Linked DNA regions of Homo sapiens: all the other regions are linked to region 4. Evidence: promoter capture Hi-C in 16 types of primary human blood cells and fetal thymus (Javierre and others, 2016). All regions are on one chromosome and are shown on one strand. Each heading gives the region's core, a stretch centred on a gene start or on the middle of the fragment in contact. The rest is flanking DNA. Distances are from core to core; before and after follow the strand shown. Region 1 has its middle 57 kb from the start of MFAP3. Region 2 has its middle 42 kb from the start of GALNT10. Region 3 overlaps GEMIN5 (gem nuclear organelle associated protein 5). Region 4 holds the start of HAND1 (heart and neural crest derivatives expressed 1). Region 5 overlaps MFAP3 (microfibril associated protein 3). Region 6 overlaps CNOT8 (CCR4-NOT transcription complex subunit 8). Region 7 has its middle 59 kb from the start of GALNT10.

Region 1 (3,708 bases), core at 696-3,195, 380 kb before region 4:
CCACTGCTCCTCATACCCTCTCAGCTTCAAATTTATGAACTCTCAATGCAGGTTTCATTGGTTCCCACTAGGTAACATTCTCATTCCTAAATCAATCCCCTGGGAAATGCAATTCAGTAATGGGTTTAAGTCTGGTCTTAGGTTCCGCACCTGCCGTATGGCAGTGGGGTGATGGCTATCCATGCTTGAACATTCCTGGAATGTTCTCCAAGCAAAAGCTCAGAGAAATGAAGGTCATGTTCAGGGAACAGTGAGGTCAGAATAAAATTGGGATGAAAGGCGAGGGTCAGATTAGGAAATATCTGAAACTTCAGCCTAAGTAATGTGCCTTCAAGGAAGCTATAGATTGTAAAAATTAAAAATATATACCAGGATAAACAAACTATGGTACATCCATACAATAGAATATTACTCAGCAAAAAAAAAAAAAAAAAGAAGAAGAAGAAGAAATGAGCTATCAAGCCACAGAAAGACATAGAGGAACATTAAATGCATATTGCTAAGTGAGAGAAGCCAATCTGAAAAGACTATGTACTACTGCATGCTTTTAAATATATGACAACTGGAAAAGGCAAATCTATGAAGACAGTGAAAAGATCAGTGGTTGCCAGAAGTATGGGGAGAGGAAGGAGGGGATGAATAGGTGGGAGACAGGGCATTTTTAGGGCTGTGAAACTTTTCTGTATAATAGTATAAGGTAGATACATGTCATTACACATTTGCCAAAACCCACAGAACGTGCAACACCAAGAGTGAATCCTGCTGTAAACTATGGACTGGGTGACTATGATGTGTCAGTGTAGATTCATTATTTATAATAAATAAACCACACTAAGGCAAGATGTTAGGGGAAACTGAGGTGGGGATAAGAGAGTATATAGGAACTATAATTTCTGCTCAGTTTTTCTGTAAACGTAAAAATCTCTAAAAAATAGTCTATGAATAGTAATAATAAAAGAAAGTGGGAGAAAAATGCAGACCACTTTGGTTTAAATCTGGGTTAGGAGCTTACAAGTAGGGAGCTCTTAAGCAGGTTATTTAATATCTCAGCCTCATGTTACTCAGCTGTAATATGTACTTATTAGTACCCAACTCATAGTGCTGTTGTGAAAAACAAGTTAATGCATGAAGCACCTGGCATCATGCAGCAAGCACTCATAAGTGTTAGGCTTGGGGGTTGTTGGGGAGGTGTCTTTTGTTTTCTGTAAACACTCAAGAAACCATTGAAATTTTCTATGCTGGGAAGCTGATGTTGAGGACTGCCTGTAGAATAGACTGTCACTCAGAGAAGTTAGGGTCAGGAAGATAAGTTAGGACATTATTCTGAGAGGAATGTGGACATTGCTGTAGAGATAGGGGAGGTAATGATGGAAGAAGTGTTGATTAATGGGGAATATGAAGAGGAGCCTTGGAAGGAGAACAGGGTGCCTTGAATGAAGACCAGAAATGTTGGGGTTTGGGGGAGTAAGCACTGGAATCTTAAACTGATGAAAGAACTGTCTGGATTACTGAGATCATTTACCCCTTCCTCTCCAGCTCAAGATAGTCTTCGTGGCTGACTGCCATACAAGAATCCTAACATCATTTCCTTTCTCCAAAGCAGAAAGTGGAGTTTTACACAGAAATTTACCTGCTAGCTACACTGCTGCCTTGACATTTTAAGTGGTACCTGCCCTTCTGCGTCAGACATTTCCCTCAAATGAGAAAGTGACAAGCTTCCCTAATGGGCGTTTGTTCGAATGTTCAACCAAGTGAGAACTCGGCTAGAGTGGGGAAATCTGGCGCCTGCTGAAGACAAAGGGAACATCAGCAACAAATATATTCAGAGCAATTATCTTGGGGACCTCCCACCCAGTGTCCCCTCCCTTAGCCAAGCAACATCTTCAGGAGGAAGGCTGAGCGCTGGCTGTCGTGCCTCCTCCCTGCCTCCTGCTGAGTCACCATAGCAAATTGCAGCAGACAAATAGAGCAGCCTCAAAATTGGCAAGATCAGGTCCTAGGGAGCACAAGCATTGGCCTTTTCAATTTGAAAATTTGAAAATTTCAATTTTTAAGACAAATTGGCATAAGACTCTCATAGAAGAAAGAACAGTAAAGGTCGTGTGGACCCATCTTGCTGTCCTGTGATTGAACCCCTTCTGTCATGTTGTTGCCATGTGGTTCCCTAGCTATGCTTCAAGCTTACATCCAGGGACAGGGAGCTCACCACTAAAACAGGGCTACCTGGTTAATTCAAGGGCTTAGAGCTAACCCATTAATTTTACAGCTGGAGAATTCAAAGCTCCATGAGAAAGTGCCTTGCCTTTAATTGCCAGATGAGCCAGGGGCTGACCTTCCCATGTATTCTAGAACCCCTCCTTGAGCACGTTTACCAGGCAGAACATGATGGTTAAAAGGTCAGGTTCTCGTGGTGTCTGGCAGACCTGAGTGCAAAACCAATCTATTGCCCTCGGTCAAACTATTTTTTCTTTTTAAGTTCCAGGAGTTTTTTTTGACTAAAATATAGGGACAATAATTGTACCTACTTACTGGTTTGTCATAAGGATTACATGAGAAAATGATACAGCATACTTATCATACAGTGCCTGACACATAATACACGAGCAATAGTGGCAACTACTAAATATAATTGGTACTAAATTTGCTTATGTTTACCTACCATTCCAGTTGAGTATTAGAAATCATATTTACCGTCCTGACCCTGGACTGCTCATTATTTTGTTCTGTGTAGATTCCAGGGTCTGAGAGAGAGCCAAGATGAATATGGCCTTCCAAGAAGACATGCTGACAAGAAAAGACTCAGAGTGCCCAGGAGCTTCCCCTTCCTACCAACCCTGCAGCCTGGAACCCTAGCCATACCTCTCCCTGACTGTGGACAGTACAGCCTTTGAGCTGAGCCAAGCTGCTCCCCTGGCGATTTCCATAAGAGTACCACTTATCAGCACCTTGGACAGCATACAAATGATTCTGCATCTCCAGGTAAGGCAGGTGTCAGTTCCTTGACATGATATAGGGTTGGTGGCAGCAAGAAGGGTTGCAGAAATCTTCTTTCCCTGTGACCAAATTCCTAGGGAAATTGCACATACAAGGGAATAAAGCACTCAAACTGAGAATAAAACCTCCCGTATGTCTGGTTTTTATTCTCCACTTCCCACAGAAAGCCCACTGCTTATTAGAAATTTGGGATACAAAAAAACAAATAAGGATGGTATTCATTCCAAAGAGAGTGATTGGAACCAAGTAGGTGCATTTCACAGGACTGGCTGATTTGCCAGCTCCGTTTCTCTGGCATTGTTACAATTACAGCTATTCTTGGGGATGTAATTCATTATGGACCCCATTATTCCCAAGAATCAGAGAAGAGCAAAAATCAAAGGTTTATCATCTGGCTGTGGCATGTAGAACACAGCAGGCTACCTGTTGGGCACATCCAGGTGGCAATCAAAAACCAGAGCTCAGGGACAAATACACATTCTGCTGAGCTCTTCCGTCTACCCAGAAGAAATGATGCTATTTGCATCAGGGAAAGAAGGTTGCTGGCCCTTCTGTCAGCCTTCTGAGCAATTTTTAGTCATCTGGCCAACAAAGGTTGAGCTGCTGCATGTAAAAAAGGGGGCATAGTCACCTTCACTCCCAGAGCTCAGAGGAAGAAGGACAGTTACTACTATGTGCCAGCATTGTGTTCAACATCTTATATGTGTAGGAGTG
Region 2 (4,220 bases), core at 1,646-4,145, 330 kb before region 4:
AACCCTAATCCTAATAAGCACATCATAGATTAAACCCAGCCAGAGCAGATTCCTGCTGGGTGAACTTCTCACATGCTTCAGTAGACAAAATTATCTTTAGTAAAAGGGCATGTTCAGGAACATCAAATCTATCAGGCAGCCTCACTCAAAGAAGGGCCTTGGCCATGGTCCCCAACATTACTGACTCTAGGTTTCCAGTGACACATCCCAGAGTGGAGACAGCTGGGTGCCAGTTTCAGGTCAGCTGCTAGTATGGAGCTGGTACTTAACCAAATAGAATCAGAGAATTGCCAGTATTAGAAGGGGCTCTGAGACTGTCTGTCTCATATCCTTTTACAGATAGAGACATTGAGTCCTAGAGAGAGAAAGGGACAGAAACCTGCTGGTAGCAGGAGCAGATCTCCTATACCTCCCAGCTCAGTGACATCCCCACCCTGGTTTTGTCAAATAGGAGCTGCGTATCCCTGGGCAAATCTGTTTCCTTTCTTTTCTTTCTTTCTTTTTTTTTTTTTTTTTTTTTTTGAGATGGAGTCTCACTCTGCCGTCCAGGCTAGAGTGCAGTGGAACGATCTCAGCTTCACTGCAACCTCTGCCTCCCAGGTTCAAGCGAATCTCCTGCCTCAGCCTCCCAAGTAGTGGGATTACAGACACCCACCACCATGCCCAGCTAATTTTTTTGTATTTTTAGTAAAGACGGGGTTTCACCATATTGGCCAGGCTGGTTTTGAACTCCTTACCTCAAGTGATCTGCCTGTCTCAGCCTCCCAAAGTGCTAGGATTACAGGCATGAGCCACAGCGCCCAGCCTGTTTCCTTTCTGAACTTCAAATTCCTTACATATAAAATCAAATAATTTAGACCAGAACAGTAGTTCTCCACCATGACCACACATTAAAATCATCTGGAGAGCTGTAAGAAATGCCAGTGTCTGGACCCACCTGAGACCAATTCTTCATAGTCTCTAGGGTGGACCTGCTCATGAGTGGTTTATAAAGCTCTTCAGGTGATTCTGAGTTGTGTCCAGACTGAGAACCAGGAGACTAGATAATCACTACGTCTCCTTTGCTCTAACAGTTTTTTGTTTGTTTGCTTGTTTGTTTGTTTCTGAGACAAAGTCTGGCTCTATAACCCAGCCCGGAGTGCAGTGGCACAATCTCGGCTTACTGCAACCTCTGCCTCCTGGATTCAAGCCATCCTGCCACCTCAGCCTCCAAAGTAGCTGGGACTACAGGTGTGCACTAACATGCCTGGCTAATTTTTGTATTTTTTTGTAGAGATGGGGATTTCACCACATTCCCCAGGCTGGTCTAGAACTCATGAGCTCAAGCAATCTGCCTGCCTTGGCCTCCCAAAATGCTGGGATTACAGGCGTGAGCCACTGTGCCTGGCCATTGCTCTAACATTTTATGAGTTGAGAACTCCTCTTCCTGGAACCCTCTGTGCATCATACACTCCCACTACTTCCCACTTACCCCCAACTCCCATGTACACTTACCCCACAATTTATTTGAGCAGTTCCTCAAAGTTCTTGCTTAAATATCCCTCATTACACTGAGTGAGGGAGACATTACCTAAGTTCTTCCCTTCTTATAGCCGGAATCACACTTCATAGTAATTATATTTTATGGCTATCTTCCCTGTAAACTGAGTGACAGTAGAGACTGGTATAGTAGACCTAGTACTCACATCCATATGTAATCTTCCCATCCCTAGAGTGTGGCAGGGGACTGTGACTTGCTTCTAATCTATGCAATATGGCAAAGGTGATGGGAGGCCAGTTCTATGATGATATTATGTAAGATTGCAATGTCTGTCTTGCTAGGCTCCTTCCCTTGCTAGCTTTGATGAAGCAAGTGGCTATGTTGGGGAGGACCACATGTCAAGAAACTGAGAGTGGCCTCCAGCCACAACTAGCTAGAAATTGAGGCTCTGAGGCTCTTAGCCTCATAGCCTGCAAAACCCAAACCCTGCTAACAACTACATGAACTTGGAGTTAGATCCTCCGCAGTCAAATCTTTTGATAAGAACCCATCCTTAGCTGACACTTTGATTGTAGCCTTGGAGAGATCCCAGTTAATCTGTACCCAGACTCCTGATCTAAAGAAACTGAGATCATAAATGTATGTTATTTTAAGCTTCTAAGTTTGTGGTTTTATTGTTATGTGGCAATAGATAACACATACACTGAGCCTACTTCATTCAACTACTGTATCCTTGCCATCTGGCACAGTACAGCTATCCCTTGGTATCTGCAGGGGATTGTTTCCAGGACCCCCGCAAATACCAAAATCTACAGATGTGCAAGTCCCTTACGCATAGTCAGCAAGCACAGTGGCTCATGCCTGTAATCCCAGCACTTTGGGAGGCCAAGGCAGGAGGATCACTTGAGCCCAAGAGTTCAAGACCAGCCTGGGCAACATAGGGAGACCCTGACTTTACATACAATAATAATTATAATAAATAATTATAATAACATTAGCTGGGCATGGTGGTGCACACCTACAATCCCAGCTACTTGGGAGGCTGAGGTGGGAGGATTGCCTGAGCCCAGGAGTACGAGATGGCAGTGAGCCATTTGATGGCACCACTGTATTCCAGCTTAGGTGACAGAGTAAGATCCTGTCTCAAAAAAAAGAAAAAAAGGAAAGGAAAGGAAAGGAGGAAGGAAGGAGGAAGAAAGGAAGGAAGGAAGGAAGGAAGGAAGGAAGGAAGGAAGGAAGGAAGGAAGGAAGAAAAGCTGGATGCAGTGGCTCACGCCTATAATCCCAGCACTTTGGGAGGCCAAGTTGAGTGGATCACCTGAGGTCAGGAGTTCGAGACCAGCCTGGCCAACAAAATGAAACCCCATCTCTACTAAAAATTCAAAAATTAGCCAGGCATGGTGGTGAGCACCTGTAATCCCAGCTACTCGGGAGGCTGAGGCAGGGGAATTGCTTGAACCCAGGAGACAGAGGTTGCAGTGAGCCGAGATCGCTCCACTGCACTCCAGCCTGGGTGACAGAGTGAGACTCCGTTTGAAAAAAAAAACCAACAGAGAGAAAGAAAGAAAAAGAAAGAAAGAGAGAGAGAGAGAGAGAGAGAGAGAGAGAAAGAAAGAAAGAAAGAAAGAAAGAAAGAAAGAAAGAAAGAAAGAAAGAAAGGAAGAAAGAAAGAAAGAAAGAAAGAAAGAAAGAAAGAAAGGAAGGAAGGAAGGAGGGAAGGAAGGGAAAGGACAGGAAAGAAAGAAAGAAAGAAAGAAAGAAAGAAAGAAAGAAAGAAAGAAAGAAAGAAAGAGAAAGAAGGAAGGAAGGAAGGAAAGAAAGAAAGGTATTTACTTATAACTTATGCATATCCTCCCAAATACTTTAAATCATCTCTACATTACACATAATATCTAATACAATGTAGATGCTATGTAAATAGTTATACTGTATTTTGGTATTTGAATTCTTTTTTATTCTTGTATTATTTTTTAAATAGTTTTGATCAGCGACTGGTTGAATTCGTGGATGCAAAACCTGTGGATACAGAGGGACAGAGGCCTACTGTACATGGCACATGGTAGGTATTCAAAGATATTTGGCAAATAAATGAATCAATTAATTGATCAGAGTAACAACAATAAGTTCTTTGAATCCAACATTTGCCCAACACTTTTTCCTTTCTTCCTCCTGGTCACAAGCTTATGTCTCAAAATTCAATGTCAGCCCACTAAGTGAGGACTGGGCTCTAAAACCTTTCACTATTAGGAAGGCAAGTGGAAAGCACACACTGTTATTATGATGATTATTGTCATCCAGCCTTAATGAAATCGACGTGTGGTTAAATAACAGTTTGCTGAGTGTAAATTGTTATTGTTATTGATAAACCATTTCCTTTACCTGACAAATGCAGTGCTGTACTCCAGGCAAGGGAGCAATCCCTGCTGTACAGACCCATAATCATTCCAAAGATGCAGAGGATGCCATTGACCCCATGGGCCAGGCTTGGGATGACACAGCCCTCAGTTACAAACCGCACTTGGACCCTTGGCTACACTGTCTTGGCTTTTGGGCCTGCTCAGGACAACTGCTCAGAGCAAATTGCCATAAGGCGCAGCTCTGCCTAAGCATTTACTGCTGCTTTTATCCTCTGAACAGCAACAGAAACTTTCAAGAATAAAAAGCAGAGAATACATCTACTTTTCCTGCTAAAGCTATGGCTGATCTCAGGCTGCTTTGGCTAGTTTTCACTGTGCTTTGA
Region 3 (3,705 bases), core at 807-3,306, 410 kb after region 4:
CTAGCTAACCAAAGTAATTGGATTCTAAATTCTTTTTTTTTGTTTTGTTTTTTTTTTGAGACAGAGTCTCGCTCTGTTGCCCAGGCTGGAGTGCAGTGGCGTGATCTTGGCTCACTGCAAGCTCCGCCTCCTGAGTTCACGCCATTCTCCTGCCTCCATGCTATTCTCCTGCCTCAGCCTCCCGAGTAACTGGGACTACAGGCACCTGCCCCCACGCCCGGCTAATATTTTGTATTTTTAGTAGAGACGGGGTTTCACCATGTTAGCCAGGATGGTCTTGATCTCCTGACCTCATGATCCGCCAGCCTCAGCCTCCCAAAGCGCTGGGATTACAGGCGTGAGCCACCACGCCCAGCCTGGATTCTAAATTCTTAAGCACATATGAATGGGTAGAGATTTTAGAAACTGAACAGAGAGGTAGCTGACCTTTATAAGAATGTGGTATAGTCAAGTGATAACACAAAAAGTGATGCTTTACCAAATGAACTGCTTTAACTCTTACCTTAATGCTCTCAGGAAATTTCGCCATTCTCTGATTTGCCTCGGTAAGCCTTTTGGTTAACTCAGGCAGAGAAAGTGGCTCATTTTTTTCTTCTTTACTAGTGAAAAAAATAAAAGGTGTAAATTGTATGTCTTGCCCTGGGTAACATTTTTCTCCCATTGTTATTTTACTGTGGTAAAATGTATATAACATAAAGCTTACCATCTTAGCCATTTAAAAATACATAGTTCAGTGATTTTAAATAAATTCATAATGTGGTGAAAAACATCCCCACCACCCATTTCCAAAAACTCTTGTCATTTTGTAAAACTGAAATCTTATACCCATTAAACATTAACTTCTCATTCTGCTTCCCTTAGCCCCTGTCAACATTATTCTACTTTCTGTCTCTATAAATTTAACTATTTTGAGTAGTTCATATAAGTGGAGTCATATAGTATATGTCTTTTTGTGACTGGCTTATTTCACTCAGCATGATGTCCTCCCTTCGTAAGGCTGAATGACATTCCATTGTATGGATATGGCACATTTTGCTTATCCATTCATCTGTCAGTGGATACTTAGGTTGCTCCCGTGTTTTGGGTATTATGAATAATGCTGCCATGAACACAGGTGTGCACATATTTCAGACCCTGCTTTCAATTCTTTTGGGTGTATACCCAGATGTGGAAGTGCTGGATCCTATGGTCATTCTATTTTACATTTCTGGAGGAAGTGCTGCTGTACTGTTTTCCACAGTGGCTGCATCATTTTACATTCCCACCAATAGGCACAAGGGTTCCAATGTCTCTGCATCCTCCTCAACACTTGTTCTGTTTCTCTGATAGTAGCCTAATGGCTATGAAGTGCTGCTTCACTGTAGTTTTGATTTGCATTTCCCCAATGATGAGATGTTGAGCATCATTTCCTGTGCTTACTGGCTTTTTAGAGAAATGTCTATTCAAGTCCTTTGCCCATCCTTGAATTGGATTATCTTTTGTTATGCCTGGGTAGCTTTTACCTTTTATTTTTAATATTTTTTAAAAATTTAAACTTTTGCCTATGACACAGCCCTCAGGAGGCCCTGAGAGCATATGCCCCTGCCTGGGTTACTTTTATCTCATTTTATAAATAAAATTCCTTTGTCACCTGGCTTCTTAAAATTTAATTTTTTTTTTTTTTTTTTGTAGAGACAGGGTCTGTCAACCAGGCTGGTATGAGTGGCATGATCGTATCTCACTACAGCCTCGAACTCCTGGGCTTAAGTGATCCTCCCACCTCAGCCTCCTGAGTAGCTGGGACTACAAGTGCATGCCACCACTACTGGCTAATTTAAAAAAATTAATTTTTCTAGAGACAGGGTCTCAATATGTAGCCCAGGCTGAACTTGAGCTCCTGGCCTCAAGTGATCCTCCTGCCTCAGCCTCCTAAGTAGCTACAGGGTACATGCCACCACACCTGGTTACTTTATTTGTATTTTTTGAGATGAAGTCTCCCTCTGTTGCCCAGGCTGGAGTGCACTGGTGCGATTTTGACTCACTGCAACCTCTGCTGCCCAGGTTCAAACGATTCTCTGGCCTCAGCCCCCCAAGTAGCTGGAATTACAGGCATGTGCCACCATACCCAGCTAATTTTTAGTAGAGACGGGGTTTCACCATGTTGGCCAGGCTGGTCTCAAACTCCTTACTTCAAGTGATCTGCCCACCTCGGCCTCCCAAAGTGCTGGGATTACAAGCGTGATCCACTGTGCCCGGGCTTTTTTTTTTTTTTTTTTTTTGTAGAGACAGGGTCTCGCTTTTTTGCCCGGGCTGGTGGTGAACTCCTGGGCCAAGTGATCCTCCTGCTTCAGCCTCCCAAAGTGCTGGGATTATAGGCATGAACCACTGTTCCTAGCCAGCAGGGTCATTTTTCATTCCGTCTTGTACTTGCCTCAGTACTTACCACTGGCTCTGAGAACTGCAGAGGGGCTGCTCTGCTTCTACTTCCGGTTCATTCTTATCAGGACCATTTGCTGTGGATTTACAGAGTTGACTCTTTTGGTGTTGTCGGATCATTTCTGCCAAGGTCTCTTGGACTTCAGCAACAGTTCTCTGTGAGTTTTGGAGACTGGCATGCTTTTCTGAAAAGAGCTCCTTAAAAGTACTCAGCATTCGCTCACCTTCTTCTGTGAGTCTCAAGTCTAGTTCTGAAGGCCTGTTTGGCTCTGGCTGAGAAGTTTCAGGGTCCGTTTCTTCAGTGCTGGCAGTGTCTAACTGCTGGCTTGGCTCAACAGAGAGTGTTCTGTGACCAGCCCTTACCCAGACACTGGAATTTGGGCAAGGTCTGGAGAGAGACCACCAGAATTCATACAGACGCCCATAAAGAAAAAAGGCCTCCAAACTTTTGAAAGCTGGTGTGGCAGGGGATTGATGGTCCCCCAACTTGTCTCTTAGGTGGTCACAGCCTAGGAAAAGAGGAAAAAGATACTGGGTCATGCATTTCTCTAGTTGCCAGAAATGTGGCTTCCTGCCCTTATGTTCTATTTCTTATCAACCAAGAAGCAGACCCCAGGAAAAAGGACAACAGTGTGATCCACCGGGCCACATGCCTTTCCACCAAGAGCCAACTGGAGGCTAAACATTTCCTGGCTTGCGACAGTGTTCTCATTACTACATCCTAGGAGTCATTCAAAGCATGATAGAGTATTCCATTTGTACTACTGAAGGCTCTGGGGCCACGACAACAGATCACACTGTCTCTCTGAAAAATCACAATGATTTAGTTCAGTGACTGACTATGCAGCCCAAGGAATGTCTATCTTTTTTGCTGTTCTTTTCTGTTCTTACTAACATGTAACTACATTCCTATTTCTCTCTCCCTTAAACTTTGTGGAAAGTGGACAGGAGGCTGTAAGAGGGTAGGGCCAGGTAAAGGAAACAGTATAGTTGTTCTTAAAAGCTTCGGTAAGAGAATCCAAACTTTCTACTAAAATGACACAGCTGGCCAATCTCCATCTTTTAAGAATCTAGGTACTCCCAGTGCCACACCACTAATGGTGGTGATGTTGTCCATTAAAGGGTGTGCCTCAGGCAGCAGGAAGTCACTTACCGTCAGGGAGAAAGGCTGAGTACACTTCCTGCATGATGGTGAAGCTCCCTGAGTCATAGCTCCGGACCACCGCCCGAAGGAGCGCCTGCACAGCCTCGTCCCAGGAGGCCATCTGTTGGCTCAGCACTGCCAGGGTC
Region 4 (4,190 bases), core at 1,382-3,881:
TCTTAATGTATTAAAAAAAATCAAAGGACATTGCACGTGCGATCCAAGTGTGTGGTTGCAGCCGACGACCTGCCGGCGCTCAGCAGAAGCTCCGCGGGATGCGTAGCACCAGTCGCCGGAGCCCAGAGCCTGGCGTTCGCCGCTGCCTTCCTCTCCTCCCGGGGCTTCAGGAGTGGCTGGCCTGGCCAGGTCCTCGGCGCGGGCCTCGGCTCACTGGTTTAACTCCAGCGCCCAGACTTGCTGCGGCCAGCCGGTGCGTCCTTTAATCCTCTTCTCGACTGGGCCCAGGGCAGGAGGAAAACCTTCGTGCTGCTGCTGCCAAAGGACACACAGAAGAAAAGAGGCGGGAGAGACAGGTTTTAATTTTTCTGCTCCGATCGCCCGGCATGGGGTAAGATGAGGAGGAGGGGAAGGTGTCGGGAGCAGTAACTGGGAGTCTTTAAATAAGTGACGGATTTCTGTTTGCGAAATAGGCAAACAGGCTCGTAAATTTGCCTTTATGCGCGGAGTTCCTGGGACCCGGGATGGGCTGGGCAGCTTCGGGAGGTTTGGTAAGGAAAATGTTCTGCGTCTGGTGAAACTGACGCGCGTTGATTTGGCTTTAGGACACCTAAGGGAGATCCCAGGATATTGGAAGGGAGGGGTGGAAATCCACGGTTCTCCCGCTCTCGCTGCACCCCACACACTTCCGCCAGCCTCCCAACCTGGTTTAAACATCAGGGCTTGGATGCAGGCTTGGGGCCCCCTAAGCCGGAGCTGGGAGCCTCAGATACGGAGGTAAAAGAGCGGGGAGTCGAGCTGGCCTAGCGTCCTCCTTCCCGCTCTTTCAGCAGGAACCAAGCGGTGCTACTTGAAGGAGGCGGCGACGCGTGGGGGCCGGGATCCGCCCAATAACAACTTCTTTCGAGGCGCCGCACCTCGAAAGAAGCCGGCCTGCACCATCCCCAGTCCGGGGCAGCCGTTTAGAGACTCGATGCCTATTTATCTTTCCCTCGTCCCTGGATGAGCTTTCGTCAGTTTACCACAGGCCCCCGCAGGTTGGATAAACCAGGTGGGGCGCTTCAGCTGGCTCCACTCCGCTACGGCCTTAAGCCCCCCAACCTAGAGAAACTGATTGGCCAGCCTGAAAACCCAGCGCTCAGAAGCCCCCAGCCCCGGACAGCCAGACCGAGTGCCAGGAAGTGTCACCCTAACCGGAGAGGATCAAGAAGGCCAAGACGAGACTGCGCTCTCCAAAGCTAAAAGAAGTGGCTCTTATTTACATGCAAAGCCACTGAAGTCGTCCTCAGAACCAGTCCATGGGGAGAACCAGAACTGGCCCTGGACTGAGTAGAAGACCCGATCTGTTTTACCTCACCTCCACCCTGGACTCCTCAGATAGGTGCTTTTCCTGCCCCGACCCACTCTGGGCCCTCAGTTTCCCTATTTATACAATGATGGAAGTAGACTAGCCGGTCCAGCAAAGGCCCTTTGAAAACAGGAACCGAGCCCGGGCACATAAATTCAAACTCAAAGTAAAGAACTTTAACACATATTCTTAACCTGGCTTCCAGGAGAGCCCAGGAATGAATCAGGACTTCTCCAAATTGGAAGCAAAACCTGTGGTGTGTGCATTTTTGGAGGGTCCGAGGCTCCAAACAGATTATTCACTCAGTATTACAAACACTCTCCCGTATTACAAATGAATTCTATGACGAATCTGCCTCCCTCCATGCACAGGATCGCACGCTGTGACCAACCATCTCAGAACTCTTCCCAACCTTTCCAAATCGGACACAGGACAACACAGCCTCCTTCGACTACCTGCATGGCCTGAGGCTGCTCACCGCTCCTGCACCCTTGGCTGGAGCATGCAAGCCCCAGGACTCACCAGCTCCCTTTTCCGCTTGCTCTCACGGCCGCCATCCGCCTTCTTGAGTTCAGCCTTGAAGGCCTCGGGATCGCCAGACTGTGCATCCTTGGCCAGCACGTCCATCAGGTAGGCGATGTAGCTGGTGGCTAGGCGCAGAGTCTTGATCTTGGAGAGCTTGGTGTCGGCCGGCACGTTGGGGATGCACTCGCGCAACTCCGCGAATGCGCTGTTAATGCTCTCAGTGCGTCTCCGCTCCTTCTTGGGTCCTGAGCCTTTCCGCCGGCCAAGACGGCCGCCAAGCGCCTCCAGCCGCCCGGGGCTCTGCCCAGGCCTGGCGTCAGGACCATAGGCGGTGGCGGCTGCAGCGGCCGCGGGCGGCGGCCCGCCCGCAGGGAAGTCCGGGGCAGCGTCAGCCGGGCTCAGCAGCCAGCTCTGGAAGTAGGGCCTTTCCTGATGACAGCGCGAGGCCGGACCGAAGAGGAAGGGTTCGTGGAGCATGGGGTGCGCAGGGTGCGGGTGGTGATGGTGGTGATGGTGTGCGTAGCTGCCCACGAGGTTCATGTTGGAGCGGCTACTGGCCTGCGCCGCCAGCCCTATTAACGCCGCTCCATGCGCCCCAGAGACTGCCGGGGGCCACCTGTGGGCTCTGGAGCCACTACTGGGCGCCGGCTTTGGGAGAGTCCGGGCAAGGCTGAAAATGAGACGCGCAGCCCACTGTCTTCTTACCGGTTTCTGCCGCGGGCGAGGTCGCCGAAGCCCAAAGACCTGTTTAACCCTTCTGCGGACTCCCCTGCGGATCTGGCTTATATAAGACCGCGGCTTTGATGTCAACCTCTCCCGGGAGCCAATGGCAGGGGGGCGGGGATAAGGAAAAGGGGGAGTGGCTATCCCAGGTTTTACGCTCAGCCCGCGCCACTCTAGTCCGCCAGCAGGGACTGGGAACCGGCCCCGCCTCTGCCCCTCCCACTCAGCTCCCTGCTCTGCGGGCTTAGGGGGGCGGGCTGCTGGGGGTGTTGAGGGGGCGGGCACGGGGACTACGTACTTGAGGCACAGGACGGCCAACGCCCTGGACTGTTGCTGCCACCCCCTCCCCACGGATCCAAGGAAAGGAATCCAGAATCACCAAGCGAAAAGAAGGCCTACACCTAGAGCCCGCCTTTTGATTTTACAGACAAGGAAACTGAGGCCCAGGGAAAGAAAGGTTCTTGTTTCTAGACTGTCTAGAAGTCTAAATAGGAATTCCAGCAGTTCCCAGTCCCGAGCTCCAACTGCTCTGCTCGGCGTCAGAGCTAGAAGATGAGAGGGCGCTGCTGAAGACAGGATAGGCCGCTAACGTTCTTCCCTAACACCTTCCAGCCCTCCGCCCCCACCCCCACCCCTTAGTCATCGGCCCTTTCTGGAGAGACTGGGAGCCGCTTGTGCACGGGGTCGTTACCAGCCCGCCAATTCTGACCCAGCCTCAGGCAGACGGGCACGCAGCTACTGACCAGCGAAGAAGCCTTTCGGAGGCAGGGGTAGGGGTGGGGCGGGAAGGAGGAGGCGGACTCCAGGCCCACGGGCATCGACGGGTTTGTTCCCGGCTTGAGGGTCTGAGATCCACTCCGGCCTCCCGGGTGCCTGATCCATTCCGAAGGCCAGCCCGGCTGGCGCAGAGACAGTCTGGCGTCCGCCTTGGGCCCGGGGCATCTGGCCAGCAGGTCTCCTCTGGTCTGTCCGCAGGACTCGCACCGAGACCTGGGAGCGCGGCTACGTCGGGCCGCTCTACCCAGATCATCACTCCTTAAGAATCTTTGGTTCTTTAAAGACACCGGCCCCGAAGCTCACACCTCGAGACACCAGCATTCGGCGTTAGACACACGCAGAGGGGACCAAGACTGCACAGCATCCGCGAGGCTCGCACAGGCAAACGCGACGTCCGGCATCTCTCACGCATCAGCGCAGAGGCGCGACTCGGCTGCACGACCCTCCGAGATTTCACCCCGGGGGTAGGGCCATTCCCTGCCAGCCGGACTCTCTCCACTGTGGGCTTTCCCCAGGCTCGCGTTGGAATCTGGGAATCCCGGAGTGGTGACGCTTCAAGCTGGGGACTCTCGGTCTTACCTCCCGCTGTGGTTCCTTTCTTGGCCGATGTCCACCTACCTGGGTCCCTCATTCTCTCAACCTTTCTCAGCTCAACGCCCCCTCCCTCGGTGTGGTAGAGGGAGTGTGCCTCTCTTCAAAGCAAAGTCGAGGGGAGGGGGAAAGGAGAAGTTAATGTGAGTGCTCTTTTTAGAAGGCAAATCATTCACCCATTCATTCAACAATTATTTATTGATGCCTACTATGTGCCTATCATAGT
Region 5 (3,838 bases), core at 674-3,173, 430 kb before region 4:
GCCAGGTTTCTTCTGCCATGTTTGGCCTAAGAGCAGTTTAAGGGAGTTTATAGTGTTTTCCTAAATCCTGTCTGGTAGGTAGAGGCAAATGGCTATGTCTGTACAACACAAGAACCACAAATCTTGGCCACATGGGCAGTTTGCTTGCCACACTCCACTGTGTAAGGAAGAGACTAGAGATCTATGATGAAGATTGCCTGGCAGCCACAGACACAGTTCAATAACTTTTTGTGAACTTAATCTTTTTTCTCCTGCCTAACCATTTCCGCATTTATTACGTGTTTGCACATTCATCTTCACTTTTGTGGTTTTAATTTTGAGTAAAATTTAATAAAGTTGTTTCTTTTTTTAAAAAAAAAAAAGGGTCACAGGAGTGCCAGGAAGTAGAATTCTATCAGGCACCAAAGCACCATGTATGAGTCTCTCTTTGTCTTTCTCCTGCTCCTCTTCCTGTCTTCCCACTCTCTCCCTTCCCCATCCCTCTTGTCCTTTCTTACAGCTTCTCCTTGTATGTGGCCCAAACCTGACTGCCTCAGCCCCCACATGCCTCCTTTTCCTCAAATGACCCTGACCCACAAGGGTCTCAATTCCAAGTTCCAAGAACAAAGATTCTATTAGCTTACTTTGCCAATAGGTTGTCTTCCTCCTAGACCCAAGAAGATAGGGATAGGGCTCAAAGAGGGGAGCCGTTGGGTAAGTAGATCACGACAAATCTTCTCTACCACAAACTGAGGACACATACAATGTCATATCATGGTTGGGATCCAAGCTCAGTTTACAATGCCTATATGCTCCATAATATTGCAAAATATTTGCAATGAGAAAAAGAAAAATGTGAAATTTTAAATTTAAGATTAAAACTGCATAATGGTGTCCCCTTCCCCCCAACCCCCAAGATTTTTAAATGGTTGCATGGTATTCTGAGTGTTTTATAATGATGTAACTATCAAATGTAAATTTTAGTTCAATATCTGAAAGAACCATGAACAATAATAATAGAGCTTATTCAGTGATTACCATTGCCAGACTCTGTGTTTTATGTATACTACCTCATTCAGACTTTGCAATAATCCTGTGAGAATAGATTCTGTTATTTTGCCCATTTTAAAGATGAGGGGCTGAGGCAGGGAGATTAAGTCATTTATAAAAGTTGCAAGGCTGGTTAGAGTCACAGATCGTATTTGAATCCTATACTCTGAACCTCTCTGCTACCCTGCTCTTATTAGAGACCTTCAATTTTGCTGATCTAGAGTAATCTAAATCTAGAATGGAATGTGAGTGATTATATCTCTCATTGGAAATATTCAAATAGCCTGAAGCACCATTCTGCAGGTCAGTTGCAGAGGAAATTGAGGAACTGTATTAGTGGCCCTTAGATGCAGTACATGAATCCAATGCCTCAGAAACACCCAGGGAGCCAATTAAAAGTCATAAATTCCAAGGCGCAAACACAGAGTTTCTTACTCGTTCTGGGTTGGGACCTGGGAATCCATATTTTTAAAAAGCTCTCCTGACAGTTGTGATATTCAACCTGGTTTGGAAACTGCACTTGGTGATCTTTTATTCCTACCATTATCCTCTAGGACAACATGGTAAATGAAGGTATCAGGTTGGGAGTCGGAAGAATGCATTTAATTAGGTACTTTTAAGGTCTTCCAAGATTGTTAGCATTGACTGTTTTTGTTTCAGAGAATTTATAATAGGCAACTGTATGTCAGTTTGAACAATTATAATCCCTGTTGCATAACATTATTCAATTTATAAAGATCTGTCACATACTGAATCAAATTTAAACTAATCTCCATCAATATTTATTGAGCATGTGCTAGTTATGACGTACAGCAATAAAAAATATAGGCCTTGTTCTTAAGGGGTAGTTGAGATGGGATAGACTGCCTAGCAGTACAGAGCAGCATATACCAGCGCCAGATGAGTACGGTAGGTGGGGAGGGCTCTGGGGTGAAGGAGAAGCCATCCTTTATACAGCTATACTCTGAATTTATGTAGGAGGAATAGCTAAGGCCTTGATAGGAGGTTCAGGAAGTTTGCGGGAAGGCAGAATTCCATGTGGGAGTTATGCTTTGCCAAGCCTTGTGTTGGTGAGGACACTCATTGCCCTGCAGCCCTCGCCTGTGACAGCTGTTCATTCTGCTGAAGTTCCTGAATCTCAGAGCAGGAAGACCGAATCCATTTCCTTTCTTTCCAGTTTCTTCTACACTAGCTACTTTGATCCTGGGGGGATGTGACCATACCCCCAGGTGATCTGCCCACGTTTGAGCCTCTCAGTTGTTTGACGTCTTCATCATGGACGAATATCTCCCTCACTCACTTCAGCCACTGCAGCTTCCGGAGTCTATCTCCAGTTTCACCATTGGCCCAGTTAGTTCTCCTCCAGAATCAGGAATCAGACGCAGCATTTTTGGCCACTGCCTGTCTTTACCACAATTTTTTAGCTGTTTTTTGTGAACAACTCCTGACCAGTGACCCCTCTCATTTTTCCCTGTCTCCTGGCCCTCTACCTTGAGTGCTTTCCTCCCAATTTTTATTCCTCTTTATTCTTCAGGTCCTGCACCTGAAGAATAGGTGCTGCACACCTCTTTTTCTCAGAGGCTTTCCATGATGAGATTAACTCCCCATGTTGGGTCCTCCTGTAGCATCTGTATTTTCCCTTGGGTAACATTGAGTTTATTTTGTATATATGTAGTTAGTGTCCATCATCTGCCAGACTGAACTTCGTGGAGGCCGAGACAATGTCTATGGGGCAGTAGGTAGGCACATGGTAGGTGCTCAATAGATACTGTTCAGTATATGAAAATGTATCCCTCCGATCTCAAACTCAGTGGTGGGGAAGAGTAGAAAGGAAGGAGATGGCAGGTTAAGAAATGAGGTGGCATTAAAATAAACTGGAGTTGTGGGGGGCTTTTTGTTTTGGTTTTGGTTTTACTACAGAGAGAGCAAGCCTCCAGCTCAAAGCCTTTCAGCAGGCAGTAGTATCTCTGGAAGCTAATAACACTTCTTTGTTTTCATTATGTTTATGTGTACGGTTACATTTGTCCACAGAACTGATGTAGAGTTTCCTTTTTAAATAAATGTGAAAGTAAAAATAAAATGAGTTGATTTAAAAGAAAAGCAGAAATGACGATAATTTGGTTCATGGATATAGTAAAAACAACAACAACAAAAAAGACAGGAGAAGGAATGAATGAAGTTTGGGAAGTGCTGCCCTGGATGAAGCTATAGGAACTCCTAATCAAAGTTCTGGAGAAAGCCTGGAGCATTTTTTCAGCACACTCATAGCCTGTCACCGTTGAGAACCACTAATCTAGAATAAAGTACAAAATTATGTCCTCCAATTGCTGTATATCTTGCAGTGAAAAAGAGCTTGGAAACTTACATGTCAAGCCCCTAGCACAGTGCTTGGCTGATGGCAGTCATTCAATAAATGTTATTTCCATTGTTTCTACCCATCACCCCCTCTTAAAAAAGAGACTGTATTCCAAACTAGATTCTCCTACTAACTTGTAGCATGTCGTAAGAAGCAAATCACTGTGCACTGAATCAATTAGATTATATTACTTCCAAAATCCCCTCTCTGCCTAAGTCTTTGTTTCCTTTAGTGTCCTTTTTGTGCGGTTTTAGGAGGAAATGGAAATAAACACGTTTAGTGTGTCATGTATTGCCAAAGTCTGAAGGTTTTTTATTTTACTCTGTATACCCCATCCTTAAATTGTAAAGATTTAGAAAAGTATTTGTCACCATTCAACCATCCTTTCAAGGGTTAATTAATGAAAATTAAATGACATTTGCACCGTATTGTAATTTAGACTTTGAGATATTT
Region 6 (3,886 bases), core at 358-2,857, 390 kb after region 4:
GTTAGGAAAAGCATTTCAAAAATACTTGTACTATAATTATAAGGTGGTGGTAATAGTGTGGCCACTACTTCTGTTTCATTATTCACCAGTTAATAAATAAACACCTTGTTTTTTAGAGAGGACATGTACTCCCAGGATTCCATAGATCTCCTTGCTAACTCAGGACTACAGTTTCAGAAGCATGAAGAGGAAGGGATTGACACACTGCACTTTGCAGAGCTGCTTATGACATCAGGAGTGGTTCTCTGTGACAATGTCAAATGGCTTTCATTTCATAGGTCAGTCCTAGGGAATGTGTATTTCTCTCTCACTTTGGGCTACACTGAAGCAGGGAATTGAATTCTTAGTCATTTTTGCAGTCCTAGTGACTGTTCTGTTCAGCAGCAGCAGCCAGAAGTTGAATTGGTGCTTGTTGCCCATGTTTCAGTTTTTCACAAAACACTGGGGCTCATATACTGGTTTGTTTCACACAGTATTTGGCTCTATCATGTGGCTATCAGTGGGTTTAATTCCAAGTGGGAATATGGTGGGTGTAGAGGGTCACAGTACTTGGTTATCTTTTAAATGGCTGTCTCGGAGTTTCTTAGGTACTTGAAAGCCAGATTCTCCTTATTTTAACTTCTCAGTACTTTTGGATTTTTGGTGAATCGAATCTACAATTAAACCCCTTGGGTACTTTTTTATATCTCCCATATTAGTCTGTTAGGTTGTTATTAGAAAGTTCAGATTATAGGCCGGGCGCAGTGGCTCACATCTATAATCCCAGCACTTTGGGAGGCTGAGAAAGGTGGATCACCTGAGGTCAGGAGTTCGAGACCAGCCTGGCCACCATGGCAAAACCCTGTCTTTACTAAAAATACAAAAATTAGCCAGGCATGGTGACGGGTGCCTGTAATCCCAGCTACTTGGGAGGCTGAGGCAGGGATAATTGCTTGAACCTGGGAGGTGAAGGTTGCAGTGAGCCGAGATCGTGCCATTGCACTCCAGCCTGGGCAACAGAGTAAGACTCTGTCTCAAAAAAAAAAAAAAAAAAAAAAGATTCAGATTATAGTACGATAAACTACTCAGAAAAAGTGAAAGTTCCTAACATGAAGTAGCATTTACAAGCTTTGAGAAATAAAATGGTTGAACACTGGGGCCTGATAACCACTGCTTTTTTAACCTCTGTGGTTTATTCTCTTGTAGTGGCTATGATTTTGGCTATATGGTAAAGTTGCTTACAGATTCTCGTTTGCCAGAAGAGGAACATGAATTCTTTCATATTCTGAACCTTTTCTTCCCATCCATTTATGATGTGAAATACCTGATGAAGAGCTGCAAAAATCTTAAGGTATATGATGTTTTTCTTAATACCAGTAACAAAAAGAAGGACAGAAAAAAAGCTGACTTTGCTTTATTGTTACGTGTTCAGCATGCATTTTTGAGTACTAGATGCTAGTGTGGTGGTAGACAGGGTATAATATAAAGCTGATTTGGTCAGATATTTGTGTGGTAACGATCTTTAACCTGGCCATGAAGGGAACCCTCTGCTTCTGTCATCTTAAGGCAGGCATTCTTCACTCGAGGGCCATGAACCTAATGAAAAGGTATAAATGCTGTTTGTTAGGGATGGGGTCTGTGGTATAACAGATTCTTAGAGGAGTTCTTAACTCTAGAAAGTTTTAGAACTTGGTACCGTAATAAATTGTTGACATAGAGCTTTGCTGTCTAGAATTAGAGTGGGATTTACTATTTCCTCAGCCTTGCAATTCTGATTTTAATGGCAGAGTTCTGGAAAAATTAACAACATGGAAAGGAGCAAAATGTAGGATGTAGCACAATATAGCGTCTGGAAAAAGGGAATAAAAGAGCTAAAAAGAGGTTACTAAGGCCTGTTAAATAAATGGCCTGTCCCCACTTCTTGCTAGAATTCAGTGAACTCATAACTGCACTTAGTTGGCTCCAGTAGGGGCATGTTGGGTTTGTAATATTATCTTTGTTCTCCATACATCTCCAGGGAGGTCTTCAGGAAGTTGCTGATCAGTTGGATTTGCAGAGGATTGGAAGGCAGCACCAGGCAGGCTCAGACTCACTGCTGACAGGAATGGCTTTCTTTAGGATGAAAGAGGTAAGCTTCCTTGAATGTGATCACAGGCCTCTCGGCAGTAACTTGCTGAAGGCTAAGGAGGTAGTGGATGGTCTGTTATGTGGGCTGAGGTTTGTTGAACATTTATTTTTTATTTATTTATTATTTATTTTTTTTGAGATGAAGCCTTGCTCTGTCACCCAGGCTGGAGTGCAGTGGTGCGATCTCAGCTCACTGCAACCTCCGCCTCCCGGGTTCAAGCTTTTCTTCTGCCTCAGCCTCCTGAGTAGCTGGGATTATAGGTGCCCGCCACCATGCCCTACTAATTTTTGTATTTTTAGTAGAGACAGGGTTTCGCCATGTTGGCCAGGCTGGTTTCAAACTCTTGACCTCAGGTGATCTGCCTGCCTTGGTCTCCCAAAGTGCTGGGATTACAGGCATGAGCCACTCTGCCTGGCCGAATTTTTTGTATTTTTAGTAGACACGGGGTTTCACTATGCTGGCCAGGCTGGTCTCGAACTCCTGACCTCAGGTGATCCGCCTGGCTTGGTCTCCCAAAGTGCTGGGATTACAGGCGTGAGCCACCACGCCCAGCCACATAGACTGTTTTTTTAGCAAGTTGATGTCCACTTTGAAAGTGGTTGTTTTTTGTTATGGTATTCTGCATGTCACATGTTTGAGAGGCAAAAGCAGCATTCTGACGTGAAAGCCACTTTCCAGTAACCAAGTATTCTTGAGCACACCCAAGTCCAGAACTTCATGTTCTTGTCAGCTCTAATCCTTTCAGTTATTTGCTTTTTTTCTGATTCCTGTAATAGAAATATATTTGTTAGGCCACCTACTGACATTATGGTAAGTTCTGTTAATTATTATTAAATAAATACTATATTGAATTTACTATAACCCCTTAGTAAAAATTAGACTCTTAATTTCTTCTTTTAGTTTCTTTACTCACTGACTCAGGTTTTAAAATATATTCAAAGATGTAGAAGGAGTAAGACGCTGCTTTGAAAAATTGAAATATTGATTTTGTTGACACTTTTGAGGACCGGATCAGATTAATTGATCTGTAGACATGGATCTCCTTTTTAGAACTAAGATTGTAGAGAGGGAGAGTACATTTCCTCTTTGTTACTCTTAATTATAAACAACTGTTACCATGTGTTGGTAAATGTTCTAGGTCAGTGATTCTCAACTGGGGATGATTTTGCCCTGGAGGGTACATTTGTTAATATCTGTAGATGATTTTGGTTGTCACAATCTGGTGGGGGAGAGTGGTGTGCTACCTGTCAGGATGCTGCTAAACATCCTGTGATACACTGGACAAGTTCCCCCAAATAATTATCCTACCCCAGTAGTGCCACAGTGGAGAGATCTTGCGTTAAGTGCTTACTGTTCGTTATCTCATTCCTCATAATAACCCTATTATCCTGTTTTATAGATAGGGAACTATGGCTTAAAAGGAGTTTAAATGACTTTGCCAAGGTCAAGTGAGTCCGGCTGAATCCACAGCCCAAGCCCAGCCCATTGCTCTGCCTGTTAAAGAGAAGGGAGCAGTTGTGTTAAACAGCAGCAGCACAGAGATACTGGCAGTAAAAGAATACATGGAAAGTATGTTCAGATAGGAGAGCCTTTCTCCTATAGAGAAAGGAGCATGAAAAGACTGCATTAAAAGGAAAGGTTTAGGCCGGGTGCGGTGGCTCACACCTGTAATCCCAGCACTTTGGGAGGCCGAGGCAAGTGGATCACTTGAGGTCAGGAGTTCGAGACCAGCCTGGCCAACATGGTGAAACCTGCCTCTATTAAAAGTACAAAAATTAG
Region 7 (3,692 bases), core at 902-3,401, 350 kb before region 4:
TTAGCCCAGAAGAGAAAATAGAGTACACATATATACAGATAGAACCTATGGTCAAAATTGTGAATGTGAGACTGGAGAGATCATTTCCCTAGAAAACAAAGCAGGCTACCTGGAGGAGGTGGCATAGGCATGGGTTCAGGAGGAGTTGTAAAACTCAGTGGTCCTTGGCTGCATGATTAACAGAGCATTTCATCAACTCCCTAATCTGGTGAGGTCATAAAAAATGTCATCTGATACTGTGTTCTTAGATAGAAAGCATTCACATCATAAAAATGATAATTGTCCCTAAGTTAATTTATAAACTCTAGGCAATCCTAATAAAAATACCATCAGGTTTTCCTTTTTCCCGCAGCTGAAAAAATTGATTATAAAGTTCATTGGGAAGAACAACAAATCAGAATAGTGGGGAAAATCAAAAAGGAAGAACAAAGAGGAAGGCTTACCCTAACAGATACTAAAGCATGCTATAAAGCCTCTATAAGTGAAATGAAACAGAATAGGAAAGTCAGAAAAAGACCCAATTGCATATGCAAATGTAAAATATTATAAAGGCAACAGCTCAAATCAGTGGGAAAGTAATAGACTTTTAGATATTGAGATAATTAGAGAGTCATATAGTCATATAAAAAAAGCTAAAATTGGATTCATTCCTCATGTCATTCACCAAGATAAATCCCAAATGGATCAGAAATGTAAGTGTAAGAATATGAAACCATACAAGTACTGGAAGAAAGCATAGTTGGCTTCCTCTATAGCCTGGGAATGGAGAAATCATTACTAACTGTATTCAAAATCTATAAGCAGTAAGAGAAAATATAAATTGATTTCATTCAAAAAATTTTTGTATAGCAAAAGATGTTACAAGCAAAGGGTAAAGATAAATGACCAACTGGGGATAATATTTACAGCTTATGTCACAGCGAAAGAATTCATATATCTAATATATAAAGAGCTTCTAAAATTGGAGAGGAAAAAGTTCAATAAGCCTATATAAAAATAGGCTGCAGAATTGTACCAACAGTCCACAAAGAAAGAAGTGCAAGTGGCTCTTAACCTTATGAAATATACTCAAACTTGCTCATAATAAGAAAAGTGTACATTTTAAAACTATATCTGGGGGTATAACTTCACACTTATTCAATTGGAAAAAGATAAAAGTTGGACAAATTCTCTGCTGGTAAATCTCTGAAGAAACAGTCTCTCGAGATCTGCTGGTATAAATGCAAAATTATGCAATCCCTATGGAGAAGAATTTGACAATATCTGGAAAAATTACATACGCATTTACCTTTGAACCAGCAATCCTATTTTTAAAAAATACAACAAAAAAATACACTGGTAAAATATGAAGAGATGTATGCACAAGGCTATTCGCTGAAGAACTATTTGTGGTATTAAAAGATTGGAAACAATCTAAATCTCTATCCAAGAAAGACTAATCGAACAAACTATAATATACTCATACTGGGTAACCAACCTGCTTGGTTTGTCCAGAACTTTCAATGCTAAAACCGGGAAATCCTGAGCAAAACAGGACAAGTTAGACATTCTTACAATTGAGGACTGTAAAACTGTAAAGGAGGAATGAGCACTATCTCTTTATACTAGTGTGGAGTGATCATCAGAATACATAGTTACATTTAAAAAATGCAAGCTAGAGGAAAGTATTTAGAGTGTACTACTGTGTAAGTAAAGGGTGAATATGAAACATACACAGACACACACACCTGCTTATATTAAAAAGAAAGAATAAAAAATAAACCATCACCATTATTTTAAGTCGCTAAATATAAAGAGATAAAGAGAATAGAGTAGAAGGTACAGAATTACAAGCTAGATTTCTGTGGATAATCTTGTTTGGTAGATTTGACTTGGAATCGTGTAAATATTTAATACAATTACAAACTTAAATTATAAAAAGCAATTCCTAAAAATAAAAAATACAACTTCTGCTTCAAACCGTGCTATAATAACTGGGTTTGGACCAGCCCTTCCCCAATTAAGAAATATTAAAGTAACTATTTTTAAATGTTGCAGTTGTGCAACATTTAAAATAGTTGCCCTGGCTTTCTACTAGAAGGCACCGCTCCAGACCACACAACGCAGAGAGGTGAACTTCAAGCAGAGCATAGAAGTTCTGCAGAGATGAGCAGGCACAGATTAGAGTTCAAGGCTGCTAAGCCAGTTGGAATTGCAGGTCTGGGTACCAGACACGAAGGACTTGCGCATAGAAAGAGCTCTGAAATCTGCATTGGTAGATGGGGGTCCCCTTAGGTCTTTAGCCAAATGTAAAAAATAAATGCACAGGACTAGATTCTGCAAAGGCTGGCAGAGAACAGCTACAAAGGAACTGAAAGCTGAATGCAGATTCCAAAGTCACAGTTCTGGGTGACATATGAGTTCTGATTGTCCAGAATGGAGAGATCTGCTAACACCCTAAGCATTCATTCAACTGAGATTCTAGAAAAGCCACAGCTTAGAGTATAGGGCTATTCTAGTTCCAGAGAAAGAACTAATTTAGACACATCTTTACAACGCTTAAAAAAACACACACACAAGACTTTAAAGGATGAGGCTTTTGATATGCTAGCAAATTAACTGCCTGTTCCCCACCCCGACCCCCAAAAAACTCAAACTCGTTAAAGGAAGACATCAAATTCCAGAATCTGAACAACGTAACATCCACGATATGTATCTTATGATTAAAAGTTATTAAACATGCGATCTAACAAAAAAGGAGACTATAACCAGGAAAAATAAATTATCAATAGTAATCAAAGTTAAACAAACTTTTTGTTTCCAATAAACATGGAAACAAATCAATAAGATAATTTCACATAGAAATAACCGTTTTAAAGAAAATTTTAAAACAGAGTAATGGCACAACGACTGGCAAGGAGAAGAGGATCAGCATTGATTGAGTGAGGAAGGAGCCCTGAGCGCTGAGACCTGAGTGGCAAAAAAGCCAGTTAGCAAAGGTCCAGGGGAAAGGCTGCCAGCAGAGCTGTGAGCACAGAGGTTCTGAGGCGGGAATGGATGATCTTGGACTGGCAGGAGAAAAGGTCAGAGGAAGCCAGGTAGGGAGGCCCAGATCATGAAACTGTTAGTCATGTTAGGCTATGGTTAAGGGTTTGGGTTTTGTTTTAAGAGCGATGGGAATAGATTCTAGGGTTTTAGGCAGAGGAGTGGCATGACCTGATGGGCATGGTTAACAGCTAGCTCTGGCCACAGTGTGGAACACGGATTTTCAGGGAGGCCTGGAGGCCAGAAGGCCAGTTAGGAAGCTGTGCCAATGTCCATGCATGGGAGGTGATGTGTTCTGAGTTTAGAGAAGCTCTGGGGACTGAGAGAGCAAGTGTGTGCATCTTCACAACAGGGGACCTGATAAATAAATCTATGCCACATCCCTGAAAGATTCTGCAACCACAGCCACTGTGCAGATCTGAATAAACTGCCAACGTGCATTTTGAGCAGAAACAGCATATTGCACAACTGCACAGATATTTTATGAGCCCAACTATGTAAAATTAAATACTCATTTCTGTATCAGTTTATCTATATATAAAGAGACATCTGGGAAGATACCGAGTTGTCAGTAATTTTTCTGGGAAGCGATGTTTTCTGTTGCGTTTTGTTTTTGCTTTTTTCTTACTTTGTTTAAAATTTCTGAGTGAAATTTTTTTCAGTGAGTA

What was found. The method cuts DNA at HindIII sites, captures the fragments that hold promoters and counts their contacts. A CHiCAGO score of 5 or more calls a contact.
Region 1: a contact is called between a fragment that was not itself captured here and the fragment with the promoter of HAND1 in region 4, in 3 of 17 cell types (neutrophils, total B cells and naive B cells). The highest score is 6.6, in neutrophils.
Region 2: a contact is called between a fragment that was not itself captured here and the fragment with the promoter of HAND1 in region 4, in 1 of 17 cell types (neutrophils). The highest score is 5.2, in neutrophils.
Region 3: a fragment that was not itself captured here is called in contact with the fragment with the promoter of HAND1 in region 4 in 2 of 17 cell types (activated CD4 T cells and monocytes); the score reaches 5.6 in activated CD4 T cells.
Region 5: a fragment that was not itself captured here is called in contact with the fragment with the promoter of HAND1 in region 4 in 7 of 17 cell types (naive B cells, total B cells, M2 macrophages and 4 more); the score reaches 9.5 in naive B cells.
Region 6: a fragment that was not itself captured here is called in contact with the fragment with the promoter of HAND1 in region 4 in 2 of 17 cell types (naive B cells and total B cells); the score reaches 6.0 in naive B cells.
Region 7: a contact is called between a fragment that was not itself captured here and the fragment with the promoter of HAND1 in region 4, in 1 of 17 cell types (neutrophils). The highest score is 5.4, in neutrophils.

What each region holds. Positions count from the first base shown.
Region 1 is chr5:154,094,293-154,098,000 of GRCh38, forward strand. No RefSeq gene overlaps it. Among named protein-coding and RNA genes, the nearest start is that of MFAP3, 57 kb to the left of the region's middle. The HindIII fragment of the contact is 465 bases long and covers 1,714-2,178 here.
Region 2 is chr5:154,146,408-154,150,627 of GRCh38, forward strand. No RefSeq gene overlaps it. Among named protein-coding and RNA genes, the nearest start is that of GALNT10, 42 kb to the right of the region's middle. The HindIII fragment of the contact is 1,526 bases long and covers 2,133-3,658 here.
Region 3 is chr5:154,888,819-154,892,523 of GRCh38, forward strand. GEMIN5 (gem nuclear organelle associated protein 5) reads right to left here. Exons shown (of 28, transcript NM_015465.5): 25 at 3,569-3,705; 26 at 2,423-2,924; 27 at 503-599. Among named protein-coding and RNA genes, the nearest start is that of CNOT8, 32 kb to the left of the region's middle. The HindIII fragment of the contact is 2,720 bases long and covers 697-3,416 here.
Region 4 is chr5:154,475,596-154,479,785 of GRCh38, forward strand. HAND1 (heart and neural crest derivatives expressed 1) reads right to left here and starts at 2,632. Exons shown (of 2, transcript NM_004821.3): 1 at 1,871-2,632; 2 at 1-315. The coding sequence starts at 2,413. The coding sequence ends at 211. RefSeq lists a silencer at 110-297 and enhancers at 452-1,306, 4,080-4,190. The HindIII fragment of the contact is 6,833 bases long and covers 1-4,190 here.
Region 5 is chr5:154,044,588-154,048,425 of GRCh38, forward strand. The region is part of intron 1 of MFAP3 (microfibril associated protein 3); the gene reads left to right. Among named protein-coding and RNA genes, the nearest start is that of MFAP3, 7.5 kb to the left of the region's middle. The HindIII fragment of the contact is 6,700 bases long and covers 1-3,838 here.
Region 6 is chr5:154,870,545-154,874,430 of GRCh38, forward strand. It overlaps CNOT8 (CCR4-NOT transcription complex subunit 8), which reads left to right. Exons shown (of 7, transcript NM_001301073.2): 4 at 117-278; 5 at 1,186-1,330; 6 at 1,997-2,107. Among named protein-coding and RNA genes, the nearest start is that of CNOT8, 14 kb to the left of the region's middle. The HindIII fragment of the contact is 1,005 bases long and covers 1,106-2,110 here.
Region 7 is chr5:154,129,882-154,133,573 of GRCh38, forward strand. No RefSeq gene overlaps it. Among named protein-coding and RNA genes, the nearest start is that of GALNT10, 59 kb to the right of the region's middle. The HindIII fragment of the contact is 5,584 bases long and covers 1-3,692 here.